Regions from separate parts of the Homo sapiens genome. Here region 1 is linked to region 2. The links are contacts of gene promoters, found by promoter capture Hi-C in blood cells and fetal thymus (Javierre and others, 2016). All regions are on one chromosome and are shown on one strand. The core of a region is centred on a gene start or on the middle of the fragment in contact, and the rest is flanking DNA. Distances in the headings are between cores, read along the strand shown.

Region 1 (3,437 bases), core at 769-3,268, 1.0 Mb before region 2:
TAATATGTTCAAAATGTTTAAGTTTCTAAGTTTTTCCCGCGGTTTCACAATTTATGTGAAATTCGCCACCGTAACTGTGAATGAGGGAATAAAGACGCAGGGACCCTGCTGCATCTTCACTTACCCGGGACCACAGAACCTGGCCTCCCAGATAGTCTCAAATTCTTCCAAAACGTAAAGATTTAAGTTGTCATTTATACAAGTAAATGAGTGAGCAGAAAAAAGCCCTACACATTACATTTCCCTCCTAAGAGTGTGTGGGCTTATCGGCGAGTAGGAAGGGTTCCTCAGGAAAGCATGAAAGCGGGGATAAAAGCGGGGAGGGAAGAAGAGAGGACGGAGACAGGGTGGTGGAGAGATGCCAGCGTTTGATACTGCCCGGAAAACGACAAACTCGGAAAGCAGGAAAACATCATCGCCTGCCTCGCCCTCCTGGCAGAGTGACCAGGACGATGAAAAGCCTCGGAACGTGGTGGGAGCTGCAAACCTACAAGCAGGTTGACCAGGCCTTGGAGAAAAACACTTGCTGAGTGAACAGGACAGACATGGTCCCTACACTCACGAAACTAGAAACCCGGAGAAAAACAGGTCCCGAGTGTGAGTCAGGAGGCACCCCCGGTCCTGGCCTTTTACTTTATATCAATTCTCAATTTTCTCCATGGAAGGAGAGAAAGGACATCAAAAATCCAAATTGCTAGGTGATTTCCTTCTAGTGTTTATATTGATTTGTAACATATAACATGCATTCTTTTCTGTGCAGGGATTTACCTAATTATGTTTTCCTTGGGCTAGTAGCAAAGTTTGTTTATATTCTCTGAGTGCGTCATATACTTGACTGAACCTTTGAAATATATGATACGCGTATATAAAATAGACACACATCTACAGATGGCACAGCCAGGGAAGGCCACAGGCTTTGGGGTAGCACAGGATGCCGGCCTAGGATTTACAGGGTCACGAACACATTCGTACGCACAAGGTCGGCACACGGGCTGCTGTACACGAGAGCGGCATTAGAGACAGAGGGGCCTCGGGGCCACCTGGACTAACCCCACCTCCGCGGCACCCTCCTGGACAAGCAGGGTGGCAAATGCTGCCCTCCTCCTGCTGAGGGTGAGGAAGAATAGAACCCTGGCAGCAAAACAAGCCCAGGATGATCCAAAGGGGAAAAAGGTGAACTTGCCACCCGTCCCACCAACTACACCTTCTCAGTAACTTCGACTCTCAGGAACAAATCCCAGGTCAAAAATCCTTTAACTCTGGCAGCATTCAGAAGAGGTAAGCCTTTGAGAAAGCAAGAAAAAGAAAACAAAAGGCCTAGAGGCACTGTCGGGGGAGACTGGGGAGTTGGTGGCAGCCTCAGCCCTGAGAAAGGGCTCGTCACTCTGGCACCAACAGGGACTCCACGTGCTCCTGAGACCCCAGCATGAACCCCAACATGAAAGGGGGAGACTCCAGCGCGAACTGGGAGACCCCAGTGGGAATGGGGCCAACTGGCTGAGGCGTCAGGTCTCAGCTACCTAAATGTACAAAGCAAATACCCTTCATTCTCTCCAGGACACCAGGGAACGTCGGCGTGAGAGGGAAGGCAGGCCTCGTCATACTTACTTGGCGATGTGGGTGGAGGTTTGTGGAAAGCTTTCCTTTTTGCTTTCTGAAAGAAAGAAGAAATGGCATAAGGCTTGCTGAGCTCCCACAGTGGTGCATCACAAGACCCTACCATGTTCAGAAAGGGTCAGGGGTCGTGTAAGAGCAGCAAGAGGACGTGAGCTTACGGGGACGTAAGGAGGGTCCAGGAACAGGACACGCAGGGCCCGATGCAGACCCCACAAAAATGCACTCACGTCAGTGCTCAGGGCTGGGCTCTCAGAGCACAAGTTCCAATTACAGAAAACCATCGGGCCCGGGCTCCTGACGTTCAGACTGAGGGTCCCACACAAATGGCGGATCTGCCCCCACCCAAACCGCCCGCACAGCCAGCCTGGGAGCCCAGCGCACCTCTGTCCACTCAGGTGGAGGTGGTCAGATGAATCCCTGCACATAAGTCAACTGCAAAGCCCACTATGGAAGAAAGCCGAGCAAAGGGAGACCCTGTCTGGAAGGTGGTCTCCTGTGACAACCACGATGCCAAACACCCAATGGGGTCCAGATCTCACAGAACGGGGTCCAGATCTGGTTCCACTGCTTACTACGGGGTGAGTGTCCCATATCCGAGATGCCTGGGACCAAGAGTGTTTCTGATTTGGGAATATTTGCATCCATATAATGAGGTATCTTGGGGATGGGACCCAAGTCTAAACACAAAATTCATTTATGTTTCATATATACATTATACCCATAGTGCAATGGTAATTTTATATTGTGTTTTTAATAACTTTGTGCATGAAACAAAGCTTGTGTGAAGTACTTAAGGGTGGAATTTCCCACTTGTGGCCTCATGAGGGTGCTCAAAAAGTTTCCATTTTTGGAGCATTTTGGATTTTGCATTAGAGACACACAACCCGTCGTGCCGTGGCCTGGGGAAGATGCTGCCATGCTTCCAACCTTAACTTCCTCATCACCTTGCACTAGACCGAGCAGATAAGGCTACCGCGGCCAGGTCTCCTCACTTCCCCTCCAGCAGAAACATTGAGCCCCAAGTTCTGCGCGGGGGGAATTTTCCCTGGGGCTTGGTTTGGATCCCTCCTCCTCCGGGGAACATCAGAGGAGCATCCCCTGCCCTCTGTGACATGGAGGGAAAATCCTTAACTTTGCGAACAGAGGTCCCTGGAGGGAGACAGTGGAGCTGAGGCTCCCCCTTGAGTCCACAGAGCAAACGTGGAATTGAGATCTGCTGGTGCCGGGTTCGTTCTGCTGGCTGCAGGTTTGCTAGATCTGCGTCTCCAGTAAGAAAAGCTTTTTTCGCTCATACACGAGAAGAGCAATTGGCACACTTCCTTTTCTACCCAGCACAGCTTGCCAAACAAACCCAAAGCCCAGTCCGGGGCCATAGTGTGCCACTGGGCCATCGGACACCACTCCTGCCCCTCTCCTTTCCGGGCTGGGAGGCCAGGCAGCAGTTCAGCTTGGGATGGCGGCTGCCCAGGTCTGCTTTCTCCCATCGGGTCCTTCCGACGGCATTAGCAGGGGCTCTCCTCCTCCCCTCAAGTGTCAGGATGAGGGCGTGGGGTGCAGGGCAAAACCAGCTGCAGGCCAGGGACTAGCAATCTGTCTCACATGAGCCCTGCTCAGGATTCACGTCCAGATAAAAGTTTTAAAGTTATCACCACAGGTATTTAAACCTAAGGGCTGGAAACTTTTCAAACACCAAGGAGCATTCGGAATATGCATTCCAGCTCTCGACACAGTATTGTGGAGAACGGCCTATTTTACGCTTCCGAGTGCAGTCTGCAAGGGCAGCGCAACCAGCCCGAGGTCGCACGGCTGACACCCAGCGG
Region 2 (3,437 bases), core at 145-2,644:
AAACCCCGTCTTTACTAAAAATACAAAAATTAGCTAGGTGTGGTGGTGGGCGCCTGTAATCCCAGCTACTCGGGAGGCTGAGGCAGGAGAATCACTTGAACCCAGGAGGCGGAGGTTGCAGTGAGCCGAGATCGCGCCATTGTACTCCAGCCTGGCGACAGAGCGAGGCTCCGTCTCAAAAAATAAATTAATTAAAAATAAAAGGGGAACAGTGGCTCCAGTCATTCCAGCCTCAACCCCTTGAGCCCTGTTGCTCAGGGCTGTGGGAGGGTAGGAGATATGAAGGACAAGGAGTGTGTGGATCCGTTGCGGGCATGGAGCGGGACTTGGTAATGGTGGCCCCAGCGGCATGAGCCCAAGCGTAACCAGAACAGGACAAGAGGTGGGCTGAGGGCCCACATCCCTCTCCCAGGAGCCGGGGTGAGTGAGTTTTTTCTCCACAGGGGCCTCTGCATGGGGGTGACAGGGACCCTCAGGGCCCCGCAACCCCTTGCCAGACCCCAAAGGGTCCAGGGACTGGGCTGTCACTCCCCCTCTCCTGCCTTGATCCACAAAAACCAGAAATATTTCCTTTTTTTTTTTTTTTTTTTTTTGGACACAGAGTCTCCCTCTGTCCCCAGGCTGGAGTGCAGTGGTGTGATCTCAGCTTACTGCAACCTCCGCCTTCTGAGTTCAAGCGATTCTCCTGTCTCAGCCTCTTGAGTATCTGGAATTACAGGTGCACGCTGCCACACCTAGCTAATTTTTGCGTATTTCGTAGAGACGGCGTTTCACCATGTTGGCCAGGCTGGTCTCGAACTCCTGACCTCAAGTGATCCACCCACCTTGGCCTCCCAAAGTGTGGGGATGACAGGCGTGAGCCACCACGCCCGGCCCAGAAAACAAATGTTTTCAACTCATCTCTTGGGGCGTGGATTTTTTTTTTAATTCAGATGAAATTCACATAACATCAATTTACCCAGGTTTAAGTGAACGATTCGGTGGCGGTAAGTATATCCACAGTGCTGTGTGCCTGCCGCCTCTACCTCATTTCAGGACTCCTGTCACCCCCCAGAGAAACCCTGTACCATTAGCTCTCCACCCCTCCTCCTGCAGCCCGGCCCTCCTTGGCCTGCCGCAGACCTCTCCCACGTGTCCCCACCAGGTGGCAGCTGCCTGGCCGTCTGGCATAGGCAGGTGAGGGCGCCAGGCGGCCAGCAGGTTCCTGGGAGCCAGCTGCCACCCAGCAAACAACCGGGAGGATAGGGTGTCAGCCGTGGGAGGGGACAGGAGGGGACGGGCCTGCAGCCTGGGGCCCAGGTGGGCCACTGGGGACGTGAGGCACTGGCCGCCCCGCCCCAGCCTGGCACAGCCCTTCAGATCCTGGCCTTGCCGCACCCACAGTGGGGCCTCCAGTTGGGGCCACGTGGCCATGAGAATGACCAGCTAGGCTTCCCTGGAGGCCAGGCCTCCCTGGACTGGGCCAGGTGCTTCCTGCCAGCAAAGGTAGAGCTGGGCCCTGTGACCGCAGACCAGAGGGAGAGGAGGAGGCTGGACTGGGCTGCGAGTGTGGGAGAGGGTGGACTCAGGGCCCCAGCAGGTTAGTGGGAGATGGAACAGGCACCCAGGGCTGCCAAGAACCCCAGCAAAGCCGGGCTCCCAGGTGGGTGGACAGGTCCCAGAGCCAGTGAGGGCCGGCTCCTCCCATGAGGGTGGCTGCACACCCCCTCCTGCCGGGGCAGGCAGTGCTGGTCTGCGCCCGCTCCCCAGCCCTCCCGGGCAGGCAGGGCGGCAGGGGTTCCCCCTCTTCTGCCCCACTGGAAGACGGTCTTTGTCCCCTAAGAAGCAGGCTCCCTGCAAGCCTGAGACTCGGAGTTGGAAGCTGGTTTTACAAGGGGGAATTGAGGTGGGACCCTCAGGTCGCAGGTGGTTGATGGGTGAGCTTCGATGGCTGAGCTCGGAGCAGGGAGGGAGCCGGGCCTGGCGCTGGTGTCCGTGTGGGGGGTGCGGCCTGGTGGGTGGCTCAGCCTCAGCTCCCGTCTCACTGTCTCCTCCCTCCCCCGCTGCTTCCTGCTGCCGGGAGCCAGTACCTTTGCCCTCACTCCTCCCGGTGTGTGTCCTCCCTCCCTCTGCAGATGAGTAATGTCTCAGGGATCCTGGAGACAGCCGGCGTCCCCCTGGTGTCAGCGAACTGGCCGCAGCCCAGCCCCCCACCGGCTGTGCCAGCTGGGCCGCAGATGGACCACATGGGGAACAGCTCCCAGGGGGCCCCCTGGCTCTTCCTCACCTCCGCACTGGCCCGAGGCGTCTCGGGGATCTTCGTGTGGACTGCCCTGGTGCTCACCTGCCACCAGGTAAGCCCTTCCGCCCCCGAGCCTCCTTCAGGACCTTGGTCTCCACAGGACGTGGCCGTGGCTCAGCCCGGTCCCCCTGGGTGCCGCTGCTATAGACGCTGTCAGAAGTGGGATCGGCCAGGGCACGGGGGAGGGGATGAGCTTCCCCAGGATGTGGCATGTGGGAGCTGGGCCTGAAAATGGGGAGATCTCTGCCAGGCTGAGGGCAGAGCGCCCACCGGGCACCCCTGGCTATTTCACAGGCTCGTCACTCGGCTCACTGAGGTCTGCAGTGTGGTCCCATTTCACAGACAAGAAGACTGAGTCTCAGAGAGACCAGAGGTCTTTCCCAGGCTCACATAGCTGGAAAGGGGAAGGGGCCTTCTCCTTCCAGAGGCGTGACACCCTGGAGAAGGCTGGTGGGAGGTTGGCAGGGGGTTGGACTTTGCTCTGTAGGGAGCTGGGGAGCAAAGGTCACAGCTTGTTAGAGGGACCGGGACTCCTGTGCAGGAGATGGGCGAGAAGCAACTTCCCCAAGCCCGAAGCCACACACAGCCCCCGACCCGGAGCAGTCCCCAGGTGGGAACAGAACAGCCCCCAGGTAGAGAAGCGGCCAGGCGCTGTGGCAAGGAAGGGCCAGGCAGGGGCAAGGAGGAAGTGGTGCCCGAGGGCAGGGGCTGGGCAGAGAGGGCAGGGAGTCAGGGACAGGACCCTCCTGAGAGACTCAGATACACAGAGAGGCCAGGGCGGTGTGCGCAGGGGTGGGGTGGGAGTGCGTGTGTAGGCCCGCGAGGGCCACACGGCTGCAGGGATTTGTCCAGAGCCCTTGACCCCAGTGCGGTGAGGTGGCTTTCAGGGGGTGCTGGGAGCCCAGGAAGGCTGTGGAGGGCTGGGCTGAGGGCAGAGCTGCTTCCCGGGTGCACGGGGCACTGGTGTAGGGAATGGATCTGTAGGTGAGCTGGGGCAGGGGGCCATCAGGAGACTGGCAGGCAGGGACACCGGTGGCCACAAGTCTCCGAGGGAGCATCTCAGTGACAGTTTATTAACTGCTTATTAGCCGGGCATGGGGGCCTGCACTGTTAGTCCCAGCTACTTGGGAGGCTGAGATGGGAGGATCGCTTGAGC

Evidence for each region. The method cuts DNA at HindIII sites, captures the fragments that hold promoters and counts their contacts. A CHiCAGO score of 5 or more calls a contact.
Region 1: a fragment that was not itself captured here is called in contact with the fragment with the promoter of TMEM184A in region 2 in 1 of 17 cell types (monocytes); the score reaches 5.1 in monocytes.

The regions. Positions count from the first base shown.
Region 1 is chr7:2,567,171-2,570,607 of GRCh38, reverse strand. IQCE (IQ motif containing E) reads right to left here. Exons shown (of 22, transcript NM_152558.5): 3 at 1,609-1,654. Among named protein-coding and RNA genes, the nearest start is that of IQCE, 9.9 kb to the right of the region's middle. RefSeq lists enhancers at 2,561-3,162, 3,177-3,346, 3,163-3,437. The HindIII fragment of the contact is 755 bases long and covers 1,641-2,395 here.
Region 2 is chr7:1,554,162-1,557,598 of GRCh38, reverse strand. It overlaps TMEM184A (transmembrane protein 184A), which reads left to right and starts at 1,394. Exons shown (of 9, transcript NM_001097620.2): 1 at 1,394-1,485; 2 at 2,115-2,333. The coding sequence starts at 2,115. RefSeq lists silencers at 1,119-1,208, 1,249-1,318, 2,686-2,868 and enhancers at 976-1,775, 1,912-2,206, 1,776-2,576. The HindIII fragment of the contact is 30,451 bases long and covers 1-3,437 here.